3 separate regions of the Homo sapiens genome follow, and regions 1 and 2 are each linked to region 3. The links are contacts of gene promoters, found by promoter capture Hi-C in human tissues and cell types (Jung and others, 2019). All regions are on one chromosome and are shown on one strand. The core of a region is centred on a gene start or on the middle of the fragment in contact, and the rest is flanking DNA. Distances in the headings are between cores, read along the strand shown.

The links. Contacts are between HindIII fragments. The study calls those that stand out against the background at their distance.
Region 1: a contact is called between a fragment that was not itself captured here and the fragment with the promoter of MYO18B in region 3, in 1 of the 25 tissues and cell types used here (dorsolateral prefrontal cortex).
Region 2: a fragment that was not itself captured here is called in contact with the fragment with the promoter of MYO18B in region 3 in 2 of the 25 tissues and cell types used here (H1 embryonic stem cells and dorsolateral prefrontal cortex).

What each region holds. Positions count from the first base shown.
Region 1 is chr22:26,059,058-26,061,862 of GRCh38, reverse strand. It overlaps a transcript of MYO18B not described here. Among named protein-coding and RNA genes, the nearest start is that of LINC02559, 92 kb to the left of the region's middle. The HindIII fragment of the contact is 7,714 bases long and covers 1-2,805 here.
Region 2 is chr22:25,422,125-25,424,897 of GRCh38, reverse strand. It overlaps LOC124905095 (a long non-coding RNA gene), which reads left to right. Exons shown (of 2, transcript XR_007068037.1): 1 at 1-2,773. Among named protein-coding and RNA genes, the nearest start is that of MIR6817, 32 kb to the left of the region's middle. The HindIII fragment of the contact is 5,143 bases long and covers 1-2,773 here.
Region 3 is chr22:25,740,578-25,743,481 of GRCh38, reverse strand. It overlaps MYO18B (myosin XVIIIB), which reads right to left and starts at 1,294. Exons shown (of 44, transcript NM_032608.7): 1 at 1,189-1,294. The HindIII fragment of the contact is 19,978 bases long and covers 1-2,904 here.

The DNA of each region.
Region 1 (2,805 bases), core at 74-2,573, 320 kb before region 3:
AAATGATGGGCTAGGAAGGGCCAAGATTCAAATGTTGACAGCATCAAAGCCAAACAATCTGTGGTAGGAGTGAGGTTGGAGTTATTATTCTAGGCTGGAGTTGGGCAGAGGTGTGTTGGGAGTGTGAGCACTGTGGAAACAAGCAAAGAGCATCAGAAGAATGACCTTTCTCGGTGGTAGATGACCTTTCTCGGTGGTAGATGACCTTTCTTGGTGGTAGATGACGTTTCTCGGCAATAGGGACACAGGAACTGAGAGCTATGATAGTGCCACCTCCCTGGGGTCCCATCTCACTGTGAGCAGCAGAGAGATATTTGAGGATGGAGATGGATATTCATCTGGTGAGGCTAGAGAAGCCCATGATTGTAGCAAGGACTCCTTAGCTAATGAAGCTGTCTGCTCCAACAATTTGGAAGAACACAGCCACCCAGTATTCAAAGCAAAACTCCAACAGCCCCATCAAGGTGGAAAACAGAAAGCAGACCCTAACAGGACTTTGGTGCTATGGCCAGGATTCAGGGTCAGGACCTGGACCTGTCAGGATCCAACCAACAAAACAGAAACAAATCTATGGATTTAAAATCAGGAATTTGATAAAAGAAACTGGTTATACAGGGGATGGAAGGGCTGAGGAATTTACTAACAACCATGGGATATCACAGAGAACAGTACAGCAGGAAGCTCCTACCACCTCCTGGCTGGAGGGTCAAAGGACAGTGTTACTGGAGTCCAGGGTCTGGGGCTCCTCAGCAGAAGCTGGCACTACAGGGGGCCAAGCCAACAGTAGCTGGGGCTACAGAAGGTTCACAGTTGCCACTGGAGATGCTGACTGAATTGTGTGTGTGTGTGTGTGTGTATGTGTGTGCATATGTGGTATGTGTGTATATGTGTGTTCATGTGTGCATATGTGGTGTGTGCATGTGTATGTGTGAATGTATGTGTGTATATGTATGTTTGTGTATATGTGTGTATATGTGTATATGTAAAACTGTGTGTTTGTGTATATATGTATATGTGTATATTGTGTATATGTATATATGTATGCATGTGTTTATGTGCATATATGTGCATATGTGTATATGTATAAATGTATGCATGTTTGTATGTATATGTGTATATGTATATATGTGTGCATGTGTATATGTATGTGTGCATGTGTGTATGTATGTACATATGTGTGTAGTGTGCATGTGTGCGTATGTATAAATGTGTGGATGTGTGTATATGTATATTTGTGTATATGTGTATGTGTGTATACATATCTGTGTGTGTATACGTGTGTATGTGTGTGTTTAATCTTCTCCCTCTTTAGTCTACTGTCAGTATCTGCCATTGCTGAATCCAGACAGAAGCCAGTTGACCCAGGAGCCTCAAACACACCTGTGGGAGACAGCTCCTTTGCAACTTCCTGCATTGCAGAACAGAGCAGGGAAAAGGTCAGGAGGTCATGGACCAGCAGAATCCAGCTTCAAAACACAAGGTTAGGTGGTTTCTCTGATATTTCCTTAAATCAGGGGTTGGTGAACTTTTTCCTATAAAGAGCCAGGTAGTACATACTTTAGGCTCTGTGAGCCATTCAGGGTATTTGGTCTCTGCTGCAGCTACTCAAATCTTCTGTTGTAGTTCAAAGCAGCCATAGACCATATGTAAACAAATTATATGTTCTGATGAAACTATATAAAAACAAGGAGTGAGTAGAATGTGGCCCACAGGCCATAGTTCCCTGGTCCCTGCCCTAGAGAGCTCACTAAAGGACGCTGGGGATGTACGAATGCTTTACTTCTTTCAACAGGAACAGAATCCTGTACTGCACTGATCACAAGGCTAATAAAATAATCATTTAAAAGAAACATTTTTATGCTTAAAGTTGTTTCCCCAGAATTCTGACTAGCAAAGTCTGTCCTCAGCTGTCACAATAATCGACCACATTATTCTCACATGTGTCTTTAGGACATGCCAACACGTTGCAACCTAGTGCCATACACCTTCTCCAGCCTTTCCCAGGACAGCATGCAATTTCTTCTTCCAAGAGCTCCAGGCACAAGGGAAATGTGAACAACAGGGGGTTGATTTTGAATTGTACGTAATTAACCACAAGTCAAGGGCTGATCTCTCATTGCAGAGGCTAATTCTGTCTGTGGAATTGTGAGACTAATTCTATACAATGCATTCTTGGGGTTAGAAGATGGAGTTTGGGAGGCAGTGGCAACATGTTCAAGTGGAAATTGATCCAAAGTGGTGCAGACAGCTGCTTAGCCCAGGAAGACACCGTCCTCTTTCCCAAACTCAGGGCATCCTCAATGGGCACCTGAGCTTCCCTTGCCTATGAAAGGGGCTTGGTTCTAAATTTTGACACATTCCTGACATAGAATTTCTCCCTTGATGAACAACTTCTCTAGAAAACTCTCATTTCTTAGAATTCCAAAGTGGAAATGCTTATCCTGGCATTTGCATAATTCCTCTTTTCCCACCCTGGAGTTGGGCTGTTCTATACTTAATAACTCACACAATCTCCGTCTCATTCACTCCACATTTGGGTCCTCTTCCTTTAGTTCTTTTGACTCCATTTGCTAATGCTTCCAAGATCCATCATCCCAGTAGCCATTGCCTTTGAAGAGGTAAAGTAACAAGCAAGATGACATAGACTTGTTTGGCTGGAAGAGTCTTGACAGAATTTGCTGACCACGTGGCATTCACCACTTCTGGGAGTCAGAAAATGTCCTTGTCCAAGTCTACCTCATAGTGGGAAACAGTCCCAAAGGTTTTGGGAGGGCCTATATTATATTGTCCTTTTCTCCCAATTCT
Region 2 (2,773 bases), core at 90-2,589, 320 kb after region 3:
GAGACCATCCTGGCTAACACAGTGAAACCCCGTCTCTACTAAAAAAAAAAACAAAATACAAAAAAAAATTAGCCAGGCATGGTGGCGGTGCCTGTAGTCCCAGCTACTCGAGAGGCTGAGGCAGGAGAATGGCATCAACCTGGGAGGCAGAGCTTGCAGTGAGCCCAGGTCACGCCACTGCACTCCAGCCGGGGTGACAGAGCAAGACTCCATCTCAAAAAAAAAAAAAAAGTATTTCTTTTCCAACATGATGTAAAACAACTGGCCTGCACATCTAAATGCTCCTGTTTTAACTGGGCCTGCAAGGGAGTCTGTGGGTCACAGTTTACTACTCCCAGTAGGCCCCATTATCAGCTACATTAGCTCAACAACATTTCAGTAAACTAAAGCAGCTATACCATTTGGACAAATAGTCAGCTTTTCCAGGATTTGCACTCATTGGTTAATTGAATAATGTGTCAACATAACAAAATGTGTGCCTCTTGCCATCTCAGGGAAGCAAAATCTCCCCTAGACAGAATGTTCCATTTTCTGAGACTCTCCTGTAATAGGCAGGAAACTGCAGACCCATTGTTTCATTTAAATTAGCTAGATATTTCGTTCTGATGCTCTTCTGTTTTAAAATTGTGGAAAAGGCAAAGTAACTAAAATAAGGAAGCACCAAGAATAGTGACTTCAAATAATTAGCTGGAAATAAAAAAATCACTAGTGATAGACCAAAGGCAAATTAAAATGTATGCTTCTCATTCAGATACTAAAAATACAAATCTGAACATCTCTTTCAAGAATACCAAAAACTGGCGGTCACATGGCTTCCTCTATAATGAAGCTGATATAGAAACTCTTGTCAAAAAACACTTGACCCGAATCCCTTTTACCAACAGCGTGAAGTCATACCAGCCATTTAAGTCATTAGGCTGAGACTTTTAACACGCAATTAACTTTCTTACAGGATCTAGAAATTCCCCAACCCCCAACCTCCAAATCAAACAGGTAGGCTACTGACTGCCATCCCGTGGTAGAGAGAATTTTGCAAGATGTTTTACCTGATAATCTCAATGTAACAGAATCCTAACACAGCACAAGGAGTGACTGTTACTATGTAAATGGCTACATTATAAAACTAAAGCCAAAGCCACTAAGATAAGTAGAAAACAGGCCGGGGTGCGGTGGCTAAGGCCTGTAATCCCTTCACTTTGGGAGGCCAAGGTGGGCGGATCATGAGGTCAGGAGTTCGAGACCAGCCTGACCACCATGGTGAAAGCCCATCTCTACTAAAAATGCGAAAAAAATTAGCCAAGTGTGGTGGCAGGCGCCTGTGGTCCCAGCTACTCAGGAGGCTGAGGCAGGAGAATCACATGAACCTGGGAGGCAGAGGTTGCAGTCAGCCAAGATTGTGCCACTGCACTCCAGCCTGGGCGACAGAGCTAGACTCCATCTCAAAAAAAAAAAAAAAAAAAAGAAAAGAAAAAAGGAAACAAATTGGAATCTCAGGAGGAGGTTCCAATGGCCCAATTGGAGAGTCTATTTTAAAAAGAGCAACAGAATAACAATTACTGAAGGGCTGTTTCCTAAAATTACTCTCTGGTTGGTATTTCTCAGTTTTCAAATGTCACGAGAAATATGCTGGCTGTCACTTACTCTGCCTTAAAGCATTAACAAAGAATACCACTGAAAAACAAAGGCATTCATACAAGGAAGTGAACATCCTAAGCACATAAGTATGTTCTTAAGAGGGACACTAAAAAAGGAAACCCCAAGAAAAAAAATAAAAACTGAACAGAAGTTCCTAACTTTAGTAATATTATATACTACCCCCCCCCAAAAAAACTGCCCATGAGTTGAGATTTATCAATTTTATATCTAGAAACCCTACATATTCAGGACTCCCTGACCTTGGGTGGCGGAGGGACACTAGGAAAGGCAAGAGAAAAAGGAATTTTCTACCACCTTTATAGAAATATTCAGTTTTTTTGGTGAAATTTAGGTTTGATATAGGAGTTCTTGTTCTCTAAGTAAGTTTCCCATTTGCCAGAAATTTTAAGCAGCATTGATTTTTTCAATTAGCTTCTGATATGCTACACTCTGGCATAGGGGTGTTAAACTCACGACATTGCAGAAGGGTTTGCACTTTTTCCTTATTTTCACTACTTGGCATTGTCTATCAAAGAGTAGCACATCCTGCAAAACCAACAAGAGGCATGGGCTAAGGAGGGAGAAGCAAGCCCAAAATATCTAGCAAGCATGTCTTCATTTGCACAATTTAGCTTTTTCACAAGAAATAACAAGGGGACTGGTATTTTCTGTATCATAGGGCTCATAGATGGACTTGTAAAAAAATCACATTATGATCACTTAGCATTAGGTAACATTTAAGCAATTTTGGGCGCCTAACACTTGAAGGACTGATGATTTCAAATGGACAATAACTTTGGTTTAAATTCCAACATTTTATAGAATTGCATGGTTTCAAATTCACCATAAAGAAAATGCCTCTTTTGAGCATCAATTCAAAGAGCTATTTAGCATTAAGGAACCTCATTAGCTGTACAACTCATGATGGTGTTAATTAGGAAAGGAGCTAGAGAAAAAAAAATCCATCGCTGAAGCCTTGATACATTATTTAAAACTCACTATTAACCTGATGAACTATTTTTTTCCGGGGAAGTGCTAATGACATGAGCTGGCAAAAAATTTTACTAGTTCCTTAATAATAAATCATTTGAGGGAAAATTGCAACTTGGTATGGACCTCACCGAGCCCCTCGCCAATT
Region 3 (2,904 bases), core at 45-2,544:
CCTCTTCCTTCTTTTCTCTCTCTCCTCTCCACTATTATTTTCTAGAACTCATCCATAGCCTAAGAGTATATAGACCCCTCTCTTTTCTGCTCCCAAGGTACACACTGGACATGGTACCCAGGCATAGGAGAATACAACTTAGGTCAGCAATGGATACAGCACCCAAGGCCACCATTATCCTTGTTGGAGTCTAGAAGCCCTAGTGGGACACTCAGCCTCCATGAGCTGGTGCACTGAATGAGGCAGCATCTTTTTGGACAGCCACAAAGTGAAAGTAACAGCCTCGTCGTATTCCAGGCCCTACAGGATAGAAGCCCAGATCCCCACACTTGCGGGTTGAGGCCAGACTGGACAGCTTGGAGCCGACTGGGAGCCGACTGGGCTCCCCATTCCGGGCCTCCCCACTCCTGGCCTCCTCCATGGAAAAGCTGCAGGAAGGCAGCAGCCCAGAGGCCTGTAGCTGGTGAGGTCTTCTCCTCTCCTGGGAGAGAGCTCCATGTCAAAGCATAGCCCCCTTCTGCCCCACTATGGGGCCACTGGGACCTGTGAATCTTCTTCATTCAGAGAAATGCCTGCTATCCGGGGTGCCAGATAAGACACCTTCCCTCAGACAGAGCTCAAGGAAGGTGGCATGAAATTGAAACCTTCAGCCATGAACTTCCATTGCCCTTCCCCCAACACTCATACATGCTTAATTTGCAGTTTAAAAAAGAACATTAAAATTAACATTTCGACTCAACAGCGTTGTTAACACGAAAGGGGAAGCCTGGCTCTTCCCCGACCATAACTGAACACCAGTGAAGCAGAAATTACTGGTAGTTGAGGAAAAATATAAACCCTGACGTCTGCGGGCAAAGATTCACAGTGGAGATTAACTCATGATTCTAAACACATTTTTAAAAATTATTAGCGAACAGCTGGGGCCTGAGGAGAGTGATTCTTACGAATGTCCATTTGCCCCAGCATTTTGTTCTCAAATCCTTCCACCGAAACACTCTTGTTTTCAAAGTGAGCAGCACGGGCAACAGGCAAAGGAATCAGGCCTCGGAAGCTCTCAACACCAGAAAGGCCTAAAATAGACCAAAAGACCGGAGGCCTGCCACCGCAGCCCCCAGCAGCGCATTCCGGAAAATTAAAACTCGCCGATCCGCTCGCAAGGTGCCCGTCTAAAACCCAGCCCAATAGTACCTTCTGCAAAGAGGACACAGATCACAGGAACCACGACTGTCTAAGACGTCTCCCCGGGTGGCCGCGAAGGGACCCCACCGAGCCGGGAAAGCAGGAGCGAAGGAGCACCCTCTCCACACACACCGACACACATCCCTTCCCCTTACTGCCCCTCCCCGACCCGTCCTCCCCCCACCCTCCTTCTGGGCCAATGTGATAGCAGCAGCTGAGTCGACCAGTCATTTCTAAAATTAGCTTGTGAGCTCCAGGTCTGGCCAGGAGACGGCAGCCCGGGGTGGCCGTTGACCAGGCAGCAGAGACCATGGACATATTTGGTGGCCCCTGAGCAGGGAAGGGGACAGCTCTGGACACAAGCACATGCTCTCTCGTCATCCCTGTCCCAGGGCAGGGCCACACACCCACACTCCCGCCTCTGCCCACACAGATAACCAGAGGTTGCAGGAACTGTTTGAGGAGGAGAGCTGGCCGGTTCTACATTCCAGGCAGACTCTGGAAGAAAATAACTTGAATGAATGCTGGTGCGTCGTGGTAAACAACCAGTGCATGTAAACATACCTTATGCTTAGGTAGTGGTTATCGCATGCCACACACCGAGGGCTTTCATGAACTCACTTAATGTTCCCTATGAGGTAGGGTTTTTCCCCAGCCCCACTTTACAAGTGGGGAAATTGAGACACAAAAAGTTAACCAACTTGCCCAAGGCCATGGAGAGCCAGAATTCAAACCCAGGCTGTGCGGGCCGTAGAGGAAACAGACACAACAGCAAACTAGGGGCTATAAAAAAGTGCTTTGGGCCTGGCACGGTGGCTCACGTCTGTAATCCCGGCACTTTGGGAAGCCGAGGTGGGCATATCACGAGGTCAGGAGATTGAGACCATCCTGGCTAACACAGTGAAACCCCGTCTCTACTAAAAATACAAAAACAAAATTAGCCGGGCGTGGTGGTGGGCGCCTGTAGTCCCAGCTACAGGCGGAGCTTGCAGTAAGCCGAGATCGCGCCACTGCACTCCAGCCTGGGTGACAGAGAGAGACTCCATCTCAAAAAAAAAAAAAAAAATCAGCTGGGTGGGGTAGTGGTTGTCTGTGATCCCAGCTACTTGGGAGGCTGAGGCAGGAGAATTGCTTGAACCCAGGAGGCGGAGGTTGCAATGAGCTAAGGTCACGCCACTGCACTCTAGCCTAGGCGATAAGAGACTCTATCTCAAAAAAACAACAACAAAAAAAGTGCTTTGTCCACTGCCTAAAAGGAGCAAAGTACAGACTTCAATAAATTGGATAAACCATGCAGGTCCATGCAGCTAGCAAAGGGTAGAGTCATGACTCAAATCCAAGTCTTTCTGGTTCCAAAGACCGCAATCAGCCCAGCATGATACTGCTCCTGTGAGAATTGTTTCAATAATTGCTATGTGGTGCTGCTCCTCTTTCCCCAGAGCTCATCGAGCAATATTTTCCCAAAGTACTCACTTCTGCCGAGGTCTTGAAAATTAGCATTCAATCAGAAGTTCATTGAAACACTAAGGGAAGGCTGCTTAGAAAATGGCAGTCTAGGCCGGGTATGGTGGCTCACACCTGTAATCCCAGCACTTTGGGAGGCTAAGGCGGGTGGATCATTTGAGGTCAGGAGTTTGAGACCAGCCTAGCCAACATGGTGAAACCCCACCTCTACTAAAAATACGAAAATTAGCTGGGCGTGGTGGCGGGCACCTGTAATCCCAG